Linked DNA regions of Homo sapiens: region 1 is linked to region 2. Evidence: promoter capture Hi-C in 16 types of primary human blood cells and fetal thymus (Javierre and others, 2016). All regions are on one chromosome and are shown on one strand. The core of a region is centred on a gene start or on the middle of the fragment in contact, and the rest is flanking DNA. Distances in the headings are between cores, read along the strand shown. Region 1 overlaps CST7 (cystatin F). Region 2 holds the start of NXT1 (nuclear transport factor 2 like export factor 1).

The links. The method cuts DNA at HindIII sites, captures the fragments that hold promoters and counts their contacts. A CHiCAGO score of 5 or more calls a contact.
Region 1: a contact is called between a fragment that was not itself captured here and the fragment with the promoter of NXT1 in region 2, in 1 of 17 cell types (neutrophils). The highest score is 5.3, in neutrophils.

The regions. Positions count from the first base shown.
Region 1 is chr20:24,953,712-24,956,411 of GRCh38, reverse strand. All of the region lies in intron 1 of CST7 (cystatin F), which reads right to left. Among named protein-coding and RNA genes, the nearest start is that of CST7, 5.8 kb to the right of the region's middle. RefSeq lists an enhancer at 1,035-1,164. The HindIII fragment of the contact is 3,090 bases long and covers 1-2,700 here.
Region 2 is chr20:23,349,502-23,352,201 of GRCh38, reverse strand. NXT1 (nuclear transport factor 2 like export factor 1) reads right to left here and starts at 1,411. Exons shown (of 2, transcript NM_013248.3): 1 at 1,141-1,411. NXT1-AS1 (NXT1 antisense RNA 1) reads left to right here and starts at 735. Exons shown (of 3, transcript XR_937384.2): 1 at 735-872. RefSeq lists enhancers at 560-609, 666-1,537, 1,476-1,770, 1,690-1,829, 1,538-2,410 and silencers at 1,100-1,369, 1,990-2,119. The HindIII fragment of the contact is 12,471 bases long and covers 1-2,700 here.

The DNA.
Region 1 (2,700 bases), core at 141-2,640, 1.6 Mb before region 2:
TGGATGGAAAGCTGGGCCCCAGGGTGTTGAGGGCAGGGTGATTGGGGAATGGGAGGGGACAGGCTTCATAGCTGGGCACTGCAGGGAGGCCTTGCCAGGACGTCAGTGTCAACTCAGAGCGAGGGCCCCAGAGGAGGCCATTCCCACTGCTGTGTGAGGTCTGCAAGAGGCCTTTCCTGGGTCCTGGATGTCTGTGGGTGCACACCAGACCCCACCAAGGGTAGACAGGATGACGAGGTTTCTGGTCACCACGTGGCACCCCCAGGCTGGGTGGTGCAGCGCCGGGAGTGGGCAGAGAAGCATGGGACTGGAAGTTCTGTGGCCTTGGGATTGTCGCCCCATCCCGGTAAAGAGTCTCCATTGTGAAGGGAGGCCACCTGGCAAATGGCTGTCCCGTGGTTGGTTCTGGGCCAGAAGGTGAGCTTCATGGCTGGGCTTTGGATGACTGTGCCTGCCTTGTGCTTTAGCAGCCCAGGGAGCCTGGCCTTCCATCCCAAAAAAGCAGCGCAGTGCTGGTGCCCCACCCCATAGAGAATGCTGGCCACGTGCTGGTCCTGTGTGCTGGTGGATAGCTGTGTCCTGCGCTGGCATGCCCTGGGACTGTCCTTCACACTAATTAGTGTCACACACATCCCCCCTGAAACTGCTGCAGCCTTTGCTTAAGAAGACTTTAGGTGGCTCACGTCTGTAATCCCAGCACTTTGGGAGGCCGAGGCGGGCAGATCACGAGGTCAGGAGATCGAGGCCATCCTGGCAAACACGGTGAAACCTGGTCTCTACTAAAAATACAAAAAATTAGCTGGACATGGTGGCGGGCACCTGTAGTCCCAGGTACTCGGGAGGATGAGGCAGGAGAATGGCGTGAACCCGGGAGGCGGAGCTTGCAGTGAGCCGAGATCGCGCCACTGCACTCCAGCCTGGGCAACAGAGCGAGACTCCGTCTCAGAAAAAAAAAAAAAAAAAAAGACTTTAGGCCTCTGAAGATGGAATAGAAACCGCTCTGTTCCTGAGCACCAGGGGCTGAGCTTGGCCATCTAGGGGAGGTCCTGGAACCTGCATTTCCCCAGGCTCTCAGGTGACTCTGACACTGGTGTTGGCAGTGAGGGGTCCCTTGGGACCTGCAGTGTTACCATCAGGAAGGAGGGGTCCCCAGAGCCAAAGGCAGCTCCTTCTGGTCCTTGTGCTTGTTGATGACAGGAAGTTGAATGTGGCTTTTAGTTAAAACAAAAAACTGTTCTGGAAACCAGCTTGGTTTCAGCTCATCACTGTCATCTGAACAGCAGAGAAAGAGACACGTGTATGGAAGGGGTAGCATGTGTTCAGTGTATTTTTGCTGTCAGATTAGCGTTTTTTTTTGTTGTTGTTGTTGTTGTTTTGCTTTCTTTCCTCACATTACATTAATATGGCTGTCCATTGTTTTCTTTGTAAAAACTACATTTTATGGCTTTTTCTGACTATAAACTTACCTATTTTTGGTAGAAATTTGAAAAATACAGAGGAGCATAACAAAAAATAATTATTTTTAATATCTTAAAGCTAACCACTATTAACTTTTTTAAAAAATAAAATGTATTTACTTTTGCTTGAGATTAACAGAATTTTAAAAATGAAGTGAAACTCAGTTTACGCTGAACTTCAAATAAATTTCCCTTCCAAGCTCATGACGTTAGTTCCTAAAAGATTGTGGTAAAGTTACAAAAAGGTTATGAAAAATACTGAAATTGGTATTTTTTATTTAACTACATGTTTCCTAAAATGTAGGCTTCAAGTCAATAAACCTTTCACTGTCTTACAGTTGTCTAAACAGATATTAAAAGCTCAGTTTTTAATTTAAAATTGTTTAAAAGTCAAACCTATTTTTAGGATGATTTGTTTAGAGAAATTAACAAGGAAATGTTGATCATTAAGAATTAACACCCCAAAGAGGCCACTCATCTTCAGGGAAGAAAACAAGCAGTCCAGCAGGTGGTGAGCGAATGCAGCTCTTTGAGAGCCTCCGATGGAGTCAAGGAACTGTGAAGAGGACCCCCCAGGGAGGGGGCTCTGGGTTTGCTCCGTGCAACTGAAGGCAGGGAGCGGGAGAATGGGTGCTCTCCTCCTCTGCCTGCTCTGTCTGGAGGGCCCTGCGATGCTGTTTCTTCTCATGTGTGCCCATTCTGCAGGCGAGGAGACCAAGAGCTTGGAGTGCAGGGTGGGGGGCTAAACCCAGGTGTGACTAATTCGAAACACCACTCTCACTTTTTCCTCATTCAAGACGGACTGTTTGGCAGGTGCTAGGGGAGATGCAGGGTGGACTCTAAGACAGGCCCCGCCCACAGTGGTGGGGAGGCAGAGCAGGCCTGGGGCACAGGAGAGGACACCAACCTGAGGGTAAAATGGGTGAGCAGAGGGGCAGGGGATGGGGGAGCAGCTGCAAGGTGGCTGAACTGGCCTAGGGGAGGAGGGAGCTACGTGCTGGGAAGAGTTGGGGAGACCCCGCTGGAGGCTGCTGCTGGGTGCAGAGGGTGATGGTGGTGATGGCCGCGATGACGTCAACGGAAAGAACCCACGGACCGTCAGGCTTGTGAGAAGAAACAAAAGGCACATAAAATCCGTCTGTATAGAAACAATGCCTGGGGCAGGCCAGGCCTGCTCGAGGGGAATGGGGGACCTGCCATGTGCGAGGCTCGCACCAGGAGCCTGCCGGGGCAGCCTGACCCC
Region 2 (2,700 bases), core at 162-2,661:
CTGTTTGATATAACCTATGCGCAGCATCCTCCTATATACCTTCATCATCTGTAGGTAACTTATAATACCTAATACAATGTAGATGGGATGTAAATAGTTGTTATACTGTATAGTTTAGGAAATAATGACAAGAAAAAAAAAGCCTCTACATGTTCAGTACAAACGCATTTTTCTTTTTCTGAAGAATATTTTTGATTTGAGGTTGGTTGAATCCACCCCACGCGGAACCCACGACTAAGAAGCGCTGTGTTTGCTAAGGGCTTCACACAAATTACCTCATTTAAATGTTACCACAAATGGATGAAAAAGGTATTACTATAACAATTTTACAAATGAGAAAAGGGAAACCTAGGGCTGGATCAAAGTAACGACGGTTAAGTACACTCCTGATCTATCGTTTACAAGACTAGACTGAGGGCTGAAATTTTGTCAATACAACGCTGTCCTTGTACTCGCGTAAGCAAGTCTCCATGAGCACAACTCCAGGACTGCTAGAGTGGGAATTTTCTCCCAGGGACCCCATTTCTCTTTGGCTGGAATTCCCGATCTCCACCTCACTCCTCCTCCCTCCATGGCACCAGTCCCCCCATCATCTCAGAAATGCCCCTCTTCTCCGCCCCTGGCTGTCTTTCCAAACACAATCTAACAACTGGCCACGCCCCCACACACCATAGAAGGACCATCTCCACTTACGGTTTTCAGCTACCTATGAGGTCGTCAGTCCCGCTGTCTGTGTCAAATCAGAAAAAGAACCTGACCGTGAGGACTAGAGTAAGAGGCTGTGAAGACTGCCGCCTCCTCGCACGACCCACACCGTCGAGTGTCCGGAGATGGACGGGAAAAGCTACCACAGTGGCATGGCCTTATTTCCTGTGAGTCGCCTTTAATTCAAACCTAGACAGACGCACGCCCTGCCCGGCCCTCCTCAGACCCGAGAGCTGCGCTGTGAGGGGACGCGCCTCCCCTCGTTGATGAGAATTCGCTGCCACGCTTTTTGCACAGGCGAGAGCCTCACCGCGGCGGCAACTCTACCACGTGGACAAAGGCACAGCCGTGTCTCATTCTCGACAATGGAGGAGGGCGTGGGGTATGCACTAGGGGCTGTCTCGGGGGTCAGACCGCCGGGGGACGGCAACGTACCTGCGCGGCGACGTCCAGGGTCAGCGCGGGCCGCGGCCCCCACGGTCGGGACGCCCCCCGCGTGGGACGCAGTTCCACTGAGGGGCCGGCCGCGGAGGTCACAAGGTGGGCCCACCGAAGCCTCTGGTAGGGGCACGGGAAGAGCCGCCTTTCTCTCCTCCTCCTCCTTCTTGGAGGCTTACTCTGGGTCACCGGGGCCCCAGAGCCGGGGGACTTTCCGGCGCAGTTCCGCGGCTTCCCGCGCGCGGCCAGCCGGTCTCCACGCAGACGCGAGCGCCCCGGCGCCGCCCTCTCCCGCATTCCCGTGACGGGCAGCGAAGTCAGCCAGTGGGACTGCGGGCCGGAAGGCTAACTCCGCCCATGTGTGGCTTATAAGAGGCGGTAGCTTCCGGGAGTGTCACTTTCCCAGAAATCCCGGCAAATCCGCCCTAGAGTTTTCGTTGGTCCAACCGGGCCACAGACTCCGGCCCGTCTGGTTAGGTGGGATGCCTGATTGGGCCAAACCTCTTAGGTCCCGCACCTAGAGCGGGGAGTAGCGTCTGCTTTTTTTTCCGCTGAGCGGAGGCCGCTAGGCTGGAGAGGGAGGGGAAGGTGTGTGGGGTCGGGTGAGATGCTTTCCCCTCGTCCCGCATGCGCCTGTATTGGAGTGATTTCAGTTAAAAGTCTCGTGAAACGTCACCAGTGATGTAGTCACGGCCAGCAGCAGCTGCCTGACCCCGCCGAGGCCTTCCGTCTGGCAACATGTGGGGCGCCGCAATGCTTGAGGCCACGGCGAGGGCAACGCCGGCCGCGCCCCGTGGAAACCGCGTGGCGGAGTGCTTGAGCCGATCGCGCTCTTTAGGAGTTAGGCCACTTAGAGGCGACATCTTGGTGGACACGGAGGAAGCCAGTTTTAGTCAGATGGGAAAAGTAGCTAAAAGTGGGAGGAGACTGGGGCGAGGGTGGGACGTGGGGGAGGCGGGGGCGTGACGGCGGCTCTCCACTGCCCTGAGGCTTGAGGGGCCCCGGGAAACCCGGGCCCGGCTGGGGTTGGGACTCTGTTCTTCCGCGTTCATAGCTACGATTCAGCTGTTCTGGAATGAGAACTGGATTTTTACTGAACTTTACGAACAGGCTCAACAGGATGTAACCATTCAGTGTGGAGGCATGAGAAACTATAGCTTGTAAATTAAAAGAAAAACCTCATTTCTTTAGACAACATTTTCAGCTCCATCTGCTGGTCTGAGGCTGAATAATTAATTGAAAAGCCAGGAGAGAAATGGGGCTAGATGAAGTGAGGTAGTTTAACCTGTGCTTTCTTGGCGTCCCGTCGGCTCCCTTTGCTTGCATTCCTAAGAGAATCTTGGTCTCAGATTTCAGGACAAGTGGAAAACAGTTGGGCTATTTAGTATAGGCCACCCCTTCCCCCCCGCACCCTCTCCCCCCACACACTTCAGTTAAGTAGGTGGAAAGTTTGGATTATTAAAAAGACACGTTGGAGGCTGAGCAGAGAGTGTGAAAGAGCATTTTCGGGGCTTTGTGAACTAACATGGCCTTTTGAACCCCAAGGCAGTGATACTT